2 separate regions of the Homo sapiens genome follow, and region 1 is linked to region 2. The links are contacts of gene promoters, found by promoter capture Hi-C in human tissues and cell types (Jung and others, 2019). All regions are on one chromosome and are shown on one strand. Each heading gives the region's core, a stretch centred on a gene start or on the middle of the fragment in contact. The rest is flanking DNA. Distances are from core to core; before and after follow the strand shown.

What was found. The method cuts DNA at HindIII sites, captures the fragments that hold promoters and counts their contacts. A contact is called where the count stands out against the background at its distance.
Region 1: a contact is called between a fragment that was not itself captured here and the fragment with the promoter of TATDN1 in region 2, in 1 of the 25 tissues and cell types used here (small bowel).

What each region holds. Positions count from the first base shown.
Region 1 is chr8:125,651,296-125,658,302 of GRCh38, forward strand. The region is part of intron 6 of LINC02964 (long intergenic non-protein coding RNA 2964); the gene reads left to right. Among named protein-coding and RNA genes, the nearest start is that of LINC02964, 130 kb to the left of the region's middle. RefSeq lists an enhancer at 3,806-5,005. The HindIII fragment of the contact is 8,617 bases long and covers 1-7,007 here.
Region 2 is chr8:124,533,654-124,540,555 of GRCh38, forward strand. It overlaps TATDN1 (TatD DNase domain containing 1), which reads right to left and starts at 5,432. Exons shown (of 12, transcript NM_032026.4): 1 at 5,372-5,432. The coding sequence starts at 5,393. NDUFB9 (NADH:ubiquinone oxidoreductase subunit B9) reads left to right here and starts at 5,470. Exons shown (of 4, transcript NM_005005.3): 1 at 5,470-5,634. The coding sequence starts at 5,534. RefSeq lists an enhancer at 5,293-5,362. The HindIII fragment of the contact is 5,555 bases long and covers 2,621-6,902 here.

The DNA of each region.
Region 1 (7,007 bases), core at 2,646-5,145, 1.1 Mb after region 2:
GCCATGATCGCACCACTGCACTCCAGCCTGAGCAGTAGAGCAAGACCCTATCTCAACAAACAAAAACAAAAACAAAAAAATAAAACATTTAGTCATTAGCCACTTTATTTTAAAGTGTACTAGGAAAAGTGTAGGTTATTGTTTTTGTTAAAGAAGAGGGTAAATTTTAAAAAAGGAGTTAATTAAAAGTATTAAGTACAGGTGGTTTTCAAATGCAGAACATATCATACATGTTGTAAAATGTGAAAAAATCAACAAAGTTTGGGTAACTTTTCCTTAGAATGCATTTCTTCCCAGGAGGCTTAATGACTTATGCAAATAGATTCTTATAGGTCCACCCTATAGGTCTTCCAGGCAAACTTTAAGGGATTTGAAAACTAGGATAAATACAGTTTAAACTGTCCTCCAACAGAAGTACACAGTTGCATATGAAAAAACATGGCACATCTTCCTAAGCTTTGTTTCCATTTGAAGACATGAAGAGTTAAACTATCTGACCAGTAAATATTAAATAAATTCTTATATAAAAACATGTTGGGATACATTATAGAATAAATGCAAATGCAAATGTCACAAGAATTTCTAAGGTAAAAATATGTGACTGCAAAGAAATTGTATAGTTGGTGGTGGTGAGCTGTATTTGTGCCTTCTAGTGGTGGAATGGGAGGGTATGAGATGAGGGTATTCTGGCAGAGAATGTGACAGTTGCTAAAGTTAAGGCAGAGACTCTTATTGTGGCACCTACTTCAAGGTGGCCTCTATGATCCTTACCTCCCGGTGTTCATGCTGTTGTATAATCTCCTTCTGTCGATTGCCTGAGGAACTGTGACTTGCTCCTAGCCCACAGAATATGGCAAGGGGGATGGAATGTCACTCTTGTGATTGAGTTATGTTATATCAGATTCTGTATCAGAGACTCTCCTTGTGGGCTGGATGAAACAAGCAACCATGTTGGGGAGGCCTGCATGATGGGGAACTGTGGGGGCCTCTAGGACCTGAGGACGGCTTCTAGCCAACAGTCAGAAAAAAGCCAGGACCCTCACTAAGAGAGCCACAAGGAAATGAATTCTGCCAACAACCTGAATGAGCTTGGAAGTTGATTTTTCCCCAGTTAAGTTTCCAGATGAGGATGCAGCCTGCCCGATACTTGAGCCATAGCCAGATGAGACCCTAATTGGAAAACCCACTTAAGCCATGCGAAACTCCTAACCCGCAGAAATTGTGAGAAAATAAATGACTGTTGTTTTAAACTTCTACGTTTGTGGCAATGTGTTACACGGCAATAGAAAAAAAAAAAAATCGAAAACCAAAAAGAAAATACATCCACTATAAGGCACATGTGAAAATTTAAAAAACACTCAAGATACAGCACATTAGGTGAAATAATTTTGTTTAAAAATTGTCTTTGGGCTGGGCGTGGTGGCTCATGTCTGTAATCCTAGCACTTTGGGAGGCTGAGGCGGGCAGATCACCTGAGGTCAGGAGTTCGAAACCAACCTGGCCAACATGATGAAACCCATCTCTACTAAAAATACAAAAAAATTAGCCAGACGTGGTGGCAGGTGCCTGTAGTCTCAGCTACTTAGGAGGCTGAGACAGGAGAATCACTTGAACCTGGGAGGTGGAGGTTGCAGTGACCAAAGATTGCGCTGCTGCACTCCAGCCTGGGCAACAATGAGACTCCGTCTAAAACAACAACAACAACAACAGCAACAACCAAAACAACAAAACTGTTTTTATAGATTCCAAATACTTACACATTTTTCAGGACAAAACTCCCAAAGTTAAATTTAAAAAGTCTTAGTGGAAAATAGGCTTACTGGAGCCCTCTTAGCCAGTGTTTTAAACATGTAACATCTGCAGAGCTAAGTAAAGGGCACCCTTTTTGATGGAGATGAGGTGTACATCTAGGATGAGAAGGACACTCATTGAATAAGTTATTGAGAACATGCCTTGCCTCAGGTAAGCAAATATTTTCTGAGGATCATGCAGGAAAAAAATTACAGAGTACTCTGATCTATTTTTTGCCTTTAAGTTTGGGAGCTGGAAGGAAAAGGATCAAAGAGTATAGTAGTAAGTTGACATTGAATGAACCAATGAACAGCTCCATCTTGGCCCTGAGGAGTCTAATTAATTGGTTTTGGAGAGCTTCACACTAGCTGGCTATGGGCTCTTGTAGGACTCACTTCATATTTATGGCTGGGGATAATATGAGGTGAGTGAGGCACTAACTTTGGGTGCTAAATTTAAGGGATGCTGAAAACCTCAGTAATCAAGATAAATTAAATTTTAAAGCAATGATTTAAAATTCAAAATCACTGCCAAAAGATGATGAACAAATTGTCAAACTTTTAAATAAAGACTGGCTCTAGCCTTGGATTTGTACAACCTGACTTCATTGGTCTCATCGTAATCCTGGCCCCTAACAGGCAATAAAGCCCTTGGAAAACCCAGGAATAAGGTGGAAGTCTTCAATACCTGGGAGATTATGGGAACGCAGGAGTTTGGGGTGTGATTGGAAAAAGTCCTGGAAGATTTCAGTGGTAGTTGTTCTGTTGAGAGAGAGCACTACGCTCTGTTGAGAGAGAGCACTACAAGCAAGAGGTTTCATGCTTGTCAGTTTTGTTCCATATTGTATTTCAGTGCCAATGTCTATTTAATATAGTTGTATTAGTTAAATTATTTATGCCGTTTTTAAAGAAAGGCTATTTTTATTGAATTATTTTTATTTTTATTTTTTTGGTTTGGGCTTTCCCAAAAGCAGATCCCAGACAAGGACTTGGGTGCCAGCAGTTAATTTGGAGGTGATACTAGGAGGCTCTGGTAGGGGAGTGAGGAAGGGAGTCAAGGAAGGCAGGAGGCCGCCAGTAAAGGGTGCATGACTGAGTAGCTGCTGCTGCACTCATCTGAGACTCAACTGTGCTGAGAACTCCATTGAGAAACAGAATGGGACATATCTCAGAATTGTCCACTTGGGGCTGAGGCCACTAGGGCATTTATCTACTAATGCTTGTCCTTTATTAGTTGGAAGCATTATCTCCCTGGTCTGCCCTGAGAGAGGGCCAAGTGCATTCCTGTGGCAGATAAAGACCACAGTCCAAGAGATGTAGGAACTTAGAGTAAGAAGGTGGAGGAGTATACAGGAGCTGTCACCCAACTGCAGGTGACCTGTGGGATGTGCTAATGGGATGAGCACAGAACAGTGATGTGCATGTAGTGCAGCCATAATATTCAAAAAGAATAACAGCCTATAATAGGACATGCCTCTTCAAGCACATTGGATGACCAGGGCTCATTTGGAGGGATGGTCTTCCAGGTCAGGAGACACTGTGCAACTCAAGGATGCTGTTGGAGTCACAACCAAAGAAGTATATGTCATCTTGCAACTGGGAACTAGCCTTTGGCCTTTCTTTGTTGGCTACCTTTAGTTGGTTGGATGCTGGACCTGTTGATGACCAGACAGCAGTGACAAGACTAAGAAGGCCCAAGGCAGGGCTCCAGAGGAGATTCTGAAGCCATCACAAGCTAGACCCATCTCTGAGACTCTTAGAGTCTTCCTATAACAAGTATCCTTTGCACTAAGGGTAATTACCTCCTCTGTAAAACATGGCAGGTGGTTGAGATTAAGAGTAAAAATAAATTTCCTTGGCCTGGAAGGGAGGGAACTGGTTAAATATTAAGATTTGACTTAATTCCTTAGTAGCCAGACTGTGAACAGAAAGAAAACATAGAATTACATTTTGTACTTGGGTCACTTGTATAATCAGTGTGATTAATAATTGCTAATGTTTTTTATTGATGACTACATGTTAGGCACTGTACCATATACTTTACATTCCAGACCTCACTGAATCCTTCCAACAACACAGTAAGAGAGGTAGCCTACATATTTCCAATTCACATATGTGGGATCTGAGACTCAGAGAGGTTAAGTAACTTGCAAATGTCCTGGGAATAGTGAGGGGTAGAACAGCCATTTGAAGCCAGGCACAACTCTACGAACCTGGGGAAAAGTTCCATAAGATGACTGCTACAATTGTGTATGCCTTCTGAAATGCTTTGCCTATAGGTGGGCCAAGGGGTGAACTGCATTGTGATTTTTAAGTTGAGGTCTTTGGTTTCATAAAATGGCTAATGTGAGAAGACTGTCAAGACATTTGATGTTGCAGAAAGCTGATGCCAAGTCTCTGGGTGTGTGTGGAAGTATCCGTGTGTGTCAAGTGGTTGAGATAGCCCCTGCAGACCACCTCGTGCCCTAACATTCCAAATGCGGCTCAGACTTCCCAAGAACAGGCCATCTTCTGTGGGATGGGAGCTCTGGAGCAACGATGTCCTGTGAGTCAGGTGACTGATATGCTTATTTTTGGGTCCCACCCTTTGCTGGCTGTTTGACTTCAGGCAAGGGACTTAGTCACCAGGGAACCTACTTTTCTCATCTGTAAAATGATGATAATGAGGCCCGACTCCTACCTTCCTCACAGGGAGGGCAGGAAGCTTCCTGAGATCACCTCACCAGAGCCTTTTGATCTGCTTGAAAGAATCCTCCTTAATTGCCCAGTCAGGCACTCCAGCGGCTGGGCGAAAGTTTTATGACCCAGGATTCCCACAGCCCGTAATACACACGCTCCCAGAAGCCCTCTTAGGTTTTCAATGACAGATTCAGCTGCCGAACATTCTGCCAGGCCATCACCAGAGATTTCTCAAAGCCTTAGTCATATAATAGGCGGTTTCCCAGGGGTGCTTTTGCCAGTGCTTCCACTGATTCATGTCGATTCCTTTAGAGCTCCTATGAACAGTTTCCCAGCCCTTCCCAGACTGGTCCACAGCAGTCAAGTCTGGCCTCATGGAATGCTGCCAGTCTTCAGGTCACAACCAAGATGTACTTTTGAACATCTGCTTTCGGTTTTTTAAAGGGTTCTTTAAATGAGTAGTGTGCTTGCTTTCCCATTTCTTGTCTGCACCGTCACGAAAGCCTTCTAACATATTTGTCTGTCTCCAGCCTTGCTCTCTCCCTATGTTCGTGCATTGCAACCTGATAAGCAGGATATATTTCTTCCTCAAACTCATCGTGGAGTCCCCTCCTTGTCCGCAGAATGAAAATCAAACACATTAAATCCAAAGTCCTGCTCCTTTGCCCCCAACTCCCAACTCAAAATCTGGACCCAAGTTTCCTCTCTTCCCTCATGTCTCACCTCTTCCCATTGTTAGGTCATTTATTCAGTCAATCTTTGCTGTCACCTCCTATATTGCAGGTGCTGCATTAAACTCTGGGGAAAAAAATCATGTGCCCCAACCCCCATGAGGCTCCCAGCATTGTGGGAGATGCAGGCCATAAGTGAGCAAGCACAGGCAGCTTGATCAGTGTGGTGCTGAATGTGGAGGGGCTCTAATAGCCCACTGGAGGGGAGGCTGCATCTGCCTGGGGCGAGGGCGAGATGTCCAGCACTTAAGGATGAATAAATAGGATGTTGCCTGACAATGAGTCAGGGGTGGGAGTGGGGAGTGGAAAACATGGCCCGAGCGTCCCAGCAAGAAGGACTTAGATGTGAGAGACAGTATGAGGAGTTGTGAACTGACACAACGGTGGCAATTTATGGCTTGGGAAGAAGCCCAGTTCCTGAATGCCCTGGTGAGCCTTGTTAAGAGATCTGGACTTTATCCTGAAAGAAAAGAAACCATAAGCCGGGTGGTGATGTGGTCCCCACCCTCCCGACTTGGCAACCTGTCAGGTGCTCTTGGACTCCCAGGTCTCTGCCAGGGCTGGTCTTTCTTTGTTCTTCCTTATTCCCCCTCTCCCTTTCCTCCTCCTACTGTGGCACCATCTTTCATGAGTCCATTCAAATGCCATCTGTTTTTTGAAGACCTCCTGGATCCCAGGGTCAAATGAATTATTCCTGTGGGCACCTGGAGTTCATTGCTTGTACGTTACCATTTATCACATTCTACTTTGTATTTTATGGTACTTGTACCTGTTCATCTCGCCAACTGGACTGAAAACTCCTTAAAGGGCATATTTATTCTGGAATATTTATCTCTACACTTCCCACAGCACCATAGCATATGGTGCTTTGAGCCAGGCCTCCCTTCAAGCTCTGGGTTCCATTGCTTATTAGTTCTGTGATCTTGGACAAGTCACTTTATCTCTGAGACCTTGAGTTGCCTCATCTATAAAATGGGGGCAATGTTTTTTATTGCATAGGTTAATTGGAGGATTAAGTAAAGTACCTTGTTAACACTCAATAAACATTAGCTGCTGTCCTCCTCCTTCTGGTTTCTGGCTCAGGAAGATTGCCGCAACACCTTGGGAGAGCATCCCTGAGGGAGGGAAGCCTCACTTTTCCCATGGGCCCAGAGGGAGTGCTGGGTGCATGAGCAAGATCCCGTCTGCACTTGCTTGCTGAGTGCCCAGGGAGAGAGGTGGAATATAAGCGCTATTGTGTAGAGTCTTGGTTATCACAACAGTTGTTGCCACCCATTCTAATCTGATCATTTCTTTGACGTCTTCTATGTGACATTTCCTTAATGTGAACAAAAAGAGAATGTTGAGGTGATTTTCAAGAAACAAATTAAATAATATGAGTCTCCTTGTCTAGGATTATGACTTAAATCATGGTGCCCTCCCAGGGGGAAGAGAAAATAGTGATCTGCCAATCAGTCTTTCCCTTTTCTACTTGGTTGTTGGTCAGCCCATGTATAGAATCTGTACCGTGAGATTACAAGGGTCTTTGTCATGGTGTGGTTGTCATTGTCATTACTAGTAGCAGCAGCAGCAGCCTTCTATTCTTCCTCCTCCTCCTTCTCACTGCCATTTGGGTGGGATGCAGGATGGATACCCTCTTCCTCACCTCCCCTGCCATTCTCTAGAGACCCAATCTGCACGTGTGGCCTCATAGGTCACTGTACTTTTTTGACACACACAGCAGCCCCAGCAGGCAGGCAGAGCAACCGCTCTCATCTGAATTGCCAAGGAAACTGTGGCACAGAAAGTCAATGACTCGCTCACATCA
Region 2 (6,902 bases), core at 4,182-6,681:
TCTGGTATTGGTTAGTAAGGAAGGAGACCAGGACCAACCCCTCATCTTGTCATGTTTGGGAATCTTAGTTTTTCATGTTTTTCTGGGGTCTACTTGGTCGAGGGGGGTTCTGTTCAGCCAGTTTAGGGGGCTTAGAATTTTATTTTTATTTCACAGGCACAACCAGCACAGCTGCTTTGGTAAGTCAGTGACATTAAAAAAAGAAATGTGTGGCAGGGCGCGATGGCTCACGCCTATAATCCCAGCACTTTGGGAGGCTGAGGCAGGAGGATCACGAGGTCAGGAGATCGAGACCATCCTGGCTAACACAGTGAAACCCCGTCTCTACTAAAAATACAAAAAATTAGCCGGGCGTGGTAGTGGGCGCCTGTAGTCCCAGCTACTCGGGAGGCTGAGGCAGGAGAATGGCGTGAACCTGGGAGGCGGAGCTTGCAGTGAGCCCAGACTGCACCACTACACTCCAGCCTGGGCAACAGAGCGAGACTCCGTCTCAAAAAAAAAAAAAAAAAAAAAAAAAAAAAAAAAAGAAATGCGCTAGAGCAAGGGATTGGTAAACTAAGGCCCACAAGCCACTGCCTACTTTTGTTTGCCTCTAAGCTAAGAATGACTTTACATTTTTAAATAGTTGAAGAAAATCAAAAGAATATTTTGTGACACATCAAAATTATAAGAACTTCAAGTTTCAGTGACCGTAAGTTTTACTGGAACATAGCCACACCTATTTACATACTGTCTATCACCTGCTTTTGAATGACAAGGTGTGAGATAGGAAAAAATGCAAACTGCTTTCTCCTACAGTATTCTCATACTCACAATACTCTGAATTTTTTGTTTGTTTGTTTTAAGTAGAGATGGGGTCTCACTTTGTTGCCCAGGCTGGTCTTGAACTCCCGGGCTCAAGCAGTCCTCCCACCTTGGCCTCCCAAAGTGCTTGGATTACAGGCGTGAGGATTCACTTCTGACGTCAGGTATGTGTGGGGTTTCCTCTCCCAACAACCAATTCTCTGACACCAGCTGGGTGACCTATAATTTAACTCAATTCTCACACTATCTACCTGGATATAACATCAGACCGCAGAGGTCAAGGGCTCAGTCCCACAAGACTCTCCCCATTTCAGATACCAATTACAAGCAGTAGGTTCCCAGGTTACCCACAACTTGTCTAACTTGGCTACAATAAGAGGTTCCCACAACCCCCTTCTCAGGTTTGATCATTTGCTAGAGCAGCTCACGGAACTCAGGAAAGCACTTTACTTATTACCCATTCATTGTAAAAAGATGCCATTCAAAAACGGCCAGGTGGAAGAGACACATAGAGACATGTATGGGTTTTTATAGAGGCTTCACCATGTAGGTATGATTGATTAAATCACTGGCCATTAGTGAACAACTCAACCTTCAGTTTCTCTCCCCTTCCCCAGAAGTGGGAGTGGGTGGGAGGGACTGAAACTTCCAACTCTCTAATCACATGATGGGTTTTCCTAGGCAAACCCCCATCCTGAGGCTATCCAGGAGCCCCCAGCCATCAGTCATCTTAGCAGCATACAAAAAGACACTTAGCACTTAGGAGATTCCAAGGGTTTCAGGAGTTGTGCACAAAGAAATGGGAGCAGAGAACACACACGTATTTACTATTACATCACAGTACACAAAAGGGCAGAGTTGAATAGCTGCAATAGAGATCACGTGGCCCTCAAAGTCTAAAATATTTACTATATGGCCCTTTAAGGAAAAAGTTTGCAAACCTCTGCACTTGATTCAAAAATTTAAGGAACAACCAAATGTGTGGCTCTAAATGGGATACCATTTTGGACATGACCACCAAGGGACATTTTTGGAACAACAGGAAAAATTTGAGTATGATTTTGGTACTAGTTAAGATGAACATTTCCTGAAATGGAAAGGTGGAGACTGTGATTGAAAAAAGCAGAGCACAAAAGAGTAGCCTCAGTATGATCTTATTTTGTTTGGTATGCCTACAGAAGATCTGGAAAGATAGACATGGTGGTGTTATGTGTGATTTGGAGGAACTGTATTAATCTGCTTTTGCATTGCTATAAAGGAATACCTGAGACTGGGTGATTTATAAAGAAAAGAGGTGTATTTGGCTCATGGTTCTGCAGGTTGTACAAGATGCATGACACCAACATCTGCTTTTGGGAGGATCTCAGTAAGCTTCCAATCCTGGTGGAAAGGGAAGGGGAGCCAGTGTGAACTCATTACCACAGGGAGGCCATCAAGCCTTTCATGAGGGATCCACCCCCATGAGATGGATGTTGGGAAGTGACCCAAACACCTCCCACTGGACCACCTCAACATTGGAGAGCAAATTTTAACATGAGATTTGGAGGGGACAAATATCTAAACTATATCAGGAATGGAATATGATGTTTTTATTTTCACTGTTGTTTGTATTTTGCATTTTCTTCTTGCACAGATATTTCTCATTTTTTGGTGTACTATGTAGTCTAAGATCAATGCAGTAGAGATTCTGGCATATAATAGTTACAGGTAGAAGTATTTTTGAGAGTGGAAGAGTTTGTAAATAACACCCAGGGAATAGAATTCCACTTGTGGAGACAGAAAAGAGAGTATAAGCTGGGCTAAAGAAATTCTCATGCTGGCCAGTGGCTCCACGTGTAATCCCAGAACTTTGGGAGGCGGAGGTGGAAGGACTGCTTAAGGCCAGCAATTCAAGACCAGCCTGAGCAACATAGCAGGACACAGTGGTCTACAAAAAAAAATTAGCCTGGTATGGTGGTGAGCACCTCTAGTCTCAGCTACTTGGGAGGATGAGGCAGGAAGATCACTTGAGCCTAGGAGGTCAATGCTGGAGCCATGATCTAAGCCACTGTACTCCAGCCTAGGTGACAGAGCAAGACCCTGTCTCAAAACAAACAAAAACCCCCACTGTTGGGGTATAGTTCTAAGGGGCAGCCACTTGTTATGCAAGTAGAAAAGAGAGAAATGTAGAAAGAATTACAATGGTCAGCTGTCTTAAACCAAAATCTAAGGTAATTTTCATAAAATGGGTTCAATTTTTCATGCAATTGTCCCATGTGAAGCTTGTTCCAGGGATTTAATATGATGTTTTTCAAAATATTGTTCAGAACTCATTATTAGGCTAAGAAATTAGTCTAGCGATTCATGGGCAGAATTTTTTAAATGACACAAACTGAAAGATTAAATATCAGAGTAAGTCATATACCAAGGATAGAATGCATAATATGATCTCATTTCTGTTTCAAAAGGAAAAAAAAAAACCTTGATATGTTGTATTTTTATGAATCTGTATAACAATCTATTAAAAAATTAGGGAAGGCTATACTTCAAACTTTTAATATGGTTACTTTAGGAGAGTGGGGCTAAAGGAAACCATACAGAAAAAAATTTATTTCAATTATTTATTCCAATAAAGTCACCTTCTTTAAGAAGTCTTTTCTTGCTTATTTTATCTGATGCTAATCCCTTTACTAATTTTCTTATCACCTTAGCACTAAAGCCACTCATTCATACTTTCCCAAACAGTCATTGTACTACGCCCCTAGGAAAAAAATATAAATACCATACCAGTATCTGCCTTAAGAGTTTGATCTAGTGGGAAAGGCATACTCATATTTAATTATAAATAATGTGGTATAAGTTTTAAGGAGTGAGTAGGCAGACAGGCAACAGGGTAGTTGGTAGGCAGAGGAATATTTTGGCCCCAAACTGCCACTCTAAAACCTTGTCAGAGGTAACAAACAGCATGCACAAGTGTTTATAGAGCAGCCCAGGGATGGGCTAGAAAAGTGGGCAGGACTGGACCACAGAAGGGCTTTGTATGGTGTGTAAGCATTTAGGCTATCCTGAGGAGCGTAAATGAAAGATTTGAAGCAAAAGAAACATTTAGCTGATTTGATTTTTAGATACACCAAAATGGAGTCTACATGGAGGATGGATTTAAGACATTAACTTGAGGCAGGAATTTGGTTGTATAACATAAACACACTTTTAAAAAGTTATGTGGCCTTTCTTTACGGAGTACTTCATGGCTCTTTATTCCATCTCCCTCATCAATTATATCAAAGGTTAGGATGGAAAGGCTAAGACACGGCAATGTCTTATTTGACAACCCCTCCCCAAACCCCTACTCCAGGCTTTCCCACAGCAATTTCAAAACCTTTTTCCTGGCACTTAACATATTCTCCCCTGCATTTGCTTTTGACTGTACAGTACATAGGTCTTAGGTCTCCAGTCTGAAAACTGCACCACTAGATTTTACAGTTCCACAGGACTTAGCACAACGTCTTTGAAAAAAAAAAATACTGCTTAAATAACTCTCAGATCTAAATGTATAATCCTAATCTCTTGATTGCCAGACCACATTCCCAATTGCCCAGATATCTCTACCTGGATGTCCTATAATTATCTCAAACTTAACCTAATCCAAATGGACCTGGGTACCTCTCTTCACCGCCAAACTAGTCATGCTTCCATTTCATATTTAAGTACTTTTCCAAACCCTGAGTCATCTTTGTTCACTCTCTACTACCGGCCATGAACACTCAGCTGCTAAATGCTGCACACATCTCTTCCATTTCTCTCTCTTTTCCATTACCCTAGTTTAAGCTCTTGAAATGCTTCCCTACCTCTCCCTATTTCCCACAAAACCTACATAATAGCTATCAGGATTACCTTGCTAAAGCAGAGGTGTGATCACTGTCATTTCCCACCTTCAGGTAGCTGGAAACCCCACAAAACGAGGATCATGCCCATTTAAATCCCGCAGCATTCTCCCTCTCGTTCTACTGATGCCGACTGGATCATTGTACTTGCCAAGTACAGTTTGTTTTTCTCCCCATTACTTGTGTTTTCTAGTTTCTCCACCAGATGGTGATGACAGTACAACTGGGAGCTTTGTGCCCTGTGTTCCTAGGCCAGTGCCAGGCCCACTTGAGGCGCTCACTAACTATGATATGAACGAATGAATGCTTGAGTGAATTGGTCCCCAGAAGCGGTCAGCCTCTCCGCCAAGGCAGAGGGGAAGGGCCGGGAGGTGCACGTGGGATGAATGGAAACATAGTGATTGGCCTTTTTGGAGTTTTCTTCTTAAAAAACTGAATACATTACAGATGTTGAAAACAGCACAAAAATCATAACTGTACGGCTTGTTAATTTTTACAAATAAATACACCCTCGTGAATCCAGAACCTAGATCAAGAACCAGAGCATTACCAGCACCCAGAAACCTCCCCGCGCCCTCCTCCACTGAGCGGCCCTTTCAACCCTTACAATGCCGGAGGGCGCAATTCCTGGGTCCTGTGACCTTGGTGACCGACGCCCGGGACAAGTCAGAAAGACCCAAGGGCGTGGAAAACGCTCCTCTTACCGATAAACTTGAAGCGACTCATGACTGCGCATGGAGGACCTCCCCAGCGGAAGCGGAAGTGGCCGCCGGCAACTCCGCCCTTCCGGCTGGCCCCGCTCAGTCACCCGCAGCAGGCGTGCAGTTTCCCGGCTCTCCGCGCGGCCGGGGAAGGTCAGCGCCGTAATGGCGTTCTTGGCGTCGGGACCCTACCTGACCCATCAGCAAAAGGTGTTGCGGCTTTATAAGCGGGCGCTACGCCACCTCGAGTCGTGGTGCGTCCAGAGGTAAGGGATGGGGACCCAGGACTCGGGGAGGTGACCCTCGGGGCCCCATGGAGGTGGAGAGGCCCCTGGGTACCTGGAGGTTCAAGGACTTCGGGAACGGAATTGGAAGGTGGCCTCTCGCTTCACAGAATCCTATGGTAGACCCGGGTTCAAATCCAGGCTTCGCCACTTATGGCCGGGAGACCTTGTAGAGTTGCTTGTCGGGTCTGGGCGTCAGCTTTTTGTTTAGTAAAACGGACGCACGACCAGCGCAGAGGGTCGCAGGAAAATTAAGTGAAATAAAGGAAAGTGCCTAAAATTGTAATTGTCATGGGTCCAGCGCTCGCTCAATCGTTTTCTTCACGATCTTCTCCTTTCCAATATTAACAGCAATAAACTATGCATTATTTTCTTCAGTCTGCAAAACTCTAGGAGTTAGGAATTATCTTAAGCTTATTTTACAGATAAGAAGATGAGCACAGCTGGTAACTTGCGCAAGGTGATAGAGTTTCTAAGTGTCTGAGCCAGGGTTAAAATTTAGGTCTTTCTCCAAAGCATCATCATTCTCCCACCCCTCCCATTAGCTTTTCTCTTTTTAGCTTCATCTAGTCCTTTTCATTACCTTTACATCTTTTTCACCTCTTACATAATTCTCTTTCGACCTCTATCCGTCTGAGACTAGTCTGAGAACATAGTGTTAAAATGTGTAGATTTTAATCACCTAAATTCATTGCAGGGTGGGCTAACAACCCAAGATGTGTGAGTGCCTCGCCTCCACTCCAGTCTTACGACTCTCCAAACGTAGTTTTATAAGAAGGCCTTCTGGGAAAAAAACTCTATGGAAAATGGAGTAGGCCTGGAAGAATTACAGAGGGTACCCTCGAAGCCCAGATTGCATATATGTGACTATTAGAAAATCACTGACATACTTCTCTTGATTTGGCAGGAAGATGGCCAAGTACAATGTGATGGGATTGTTAGTTTCTTCCTTGAGTTTTCCTTATTTATTTATTGATTTGACAGAATTTGCAATTCAGATTCTATGCTCTATGCTAAATATATAAATGTTAGTAAATCCATTTTTGAGCAGCAGCAGCTCACGGATTAGTGGGGAAAATGGACATGTAAACAAATCGATGATGAAGGAAGTTGAGCCATCAGGGATTCAGGTATCCCAACACAAATGGTAAATGTTTGAGGTGATGAATATCCAAATTACCCTGATTTGATCATTATACATTATATGGATGTATTAAAATATCACATGTACCCCATAAATAGGTACAATA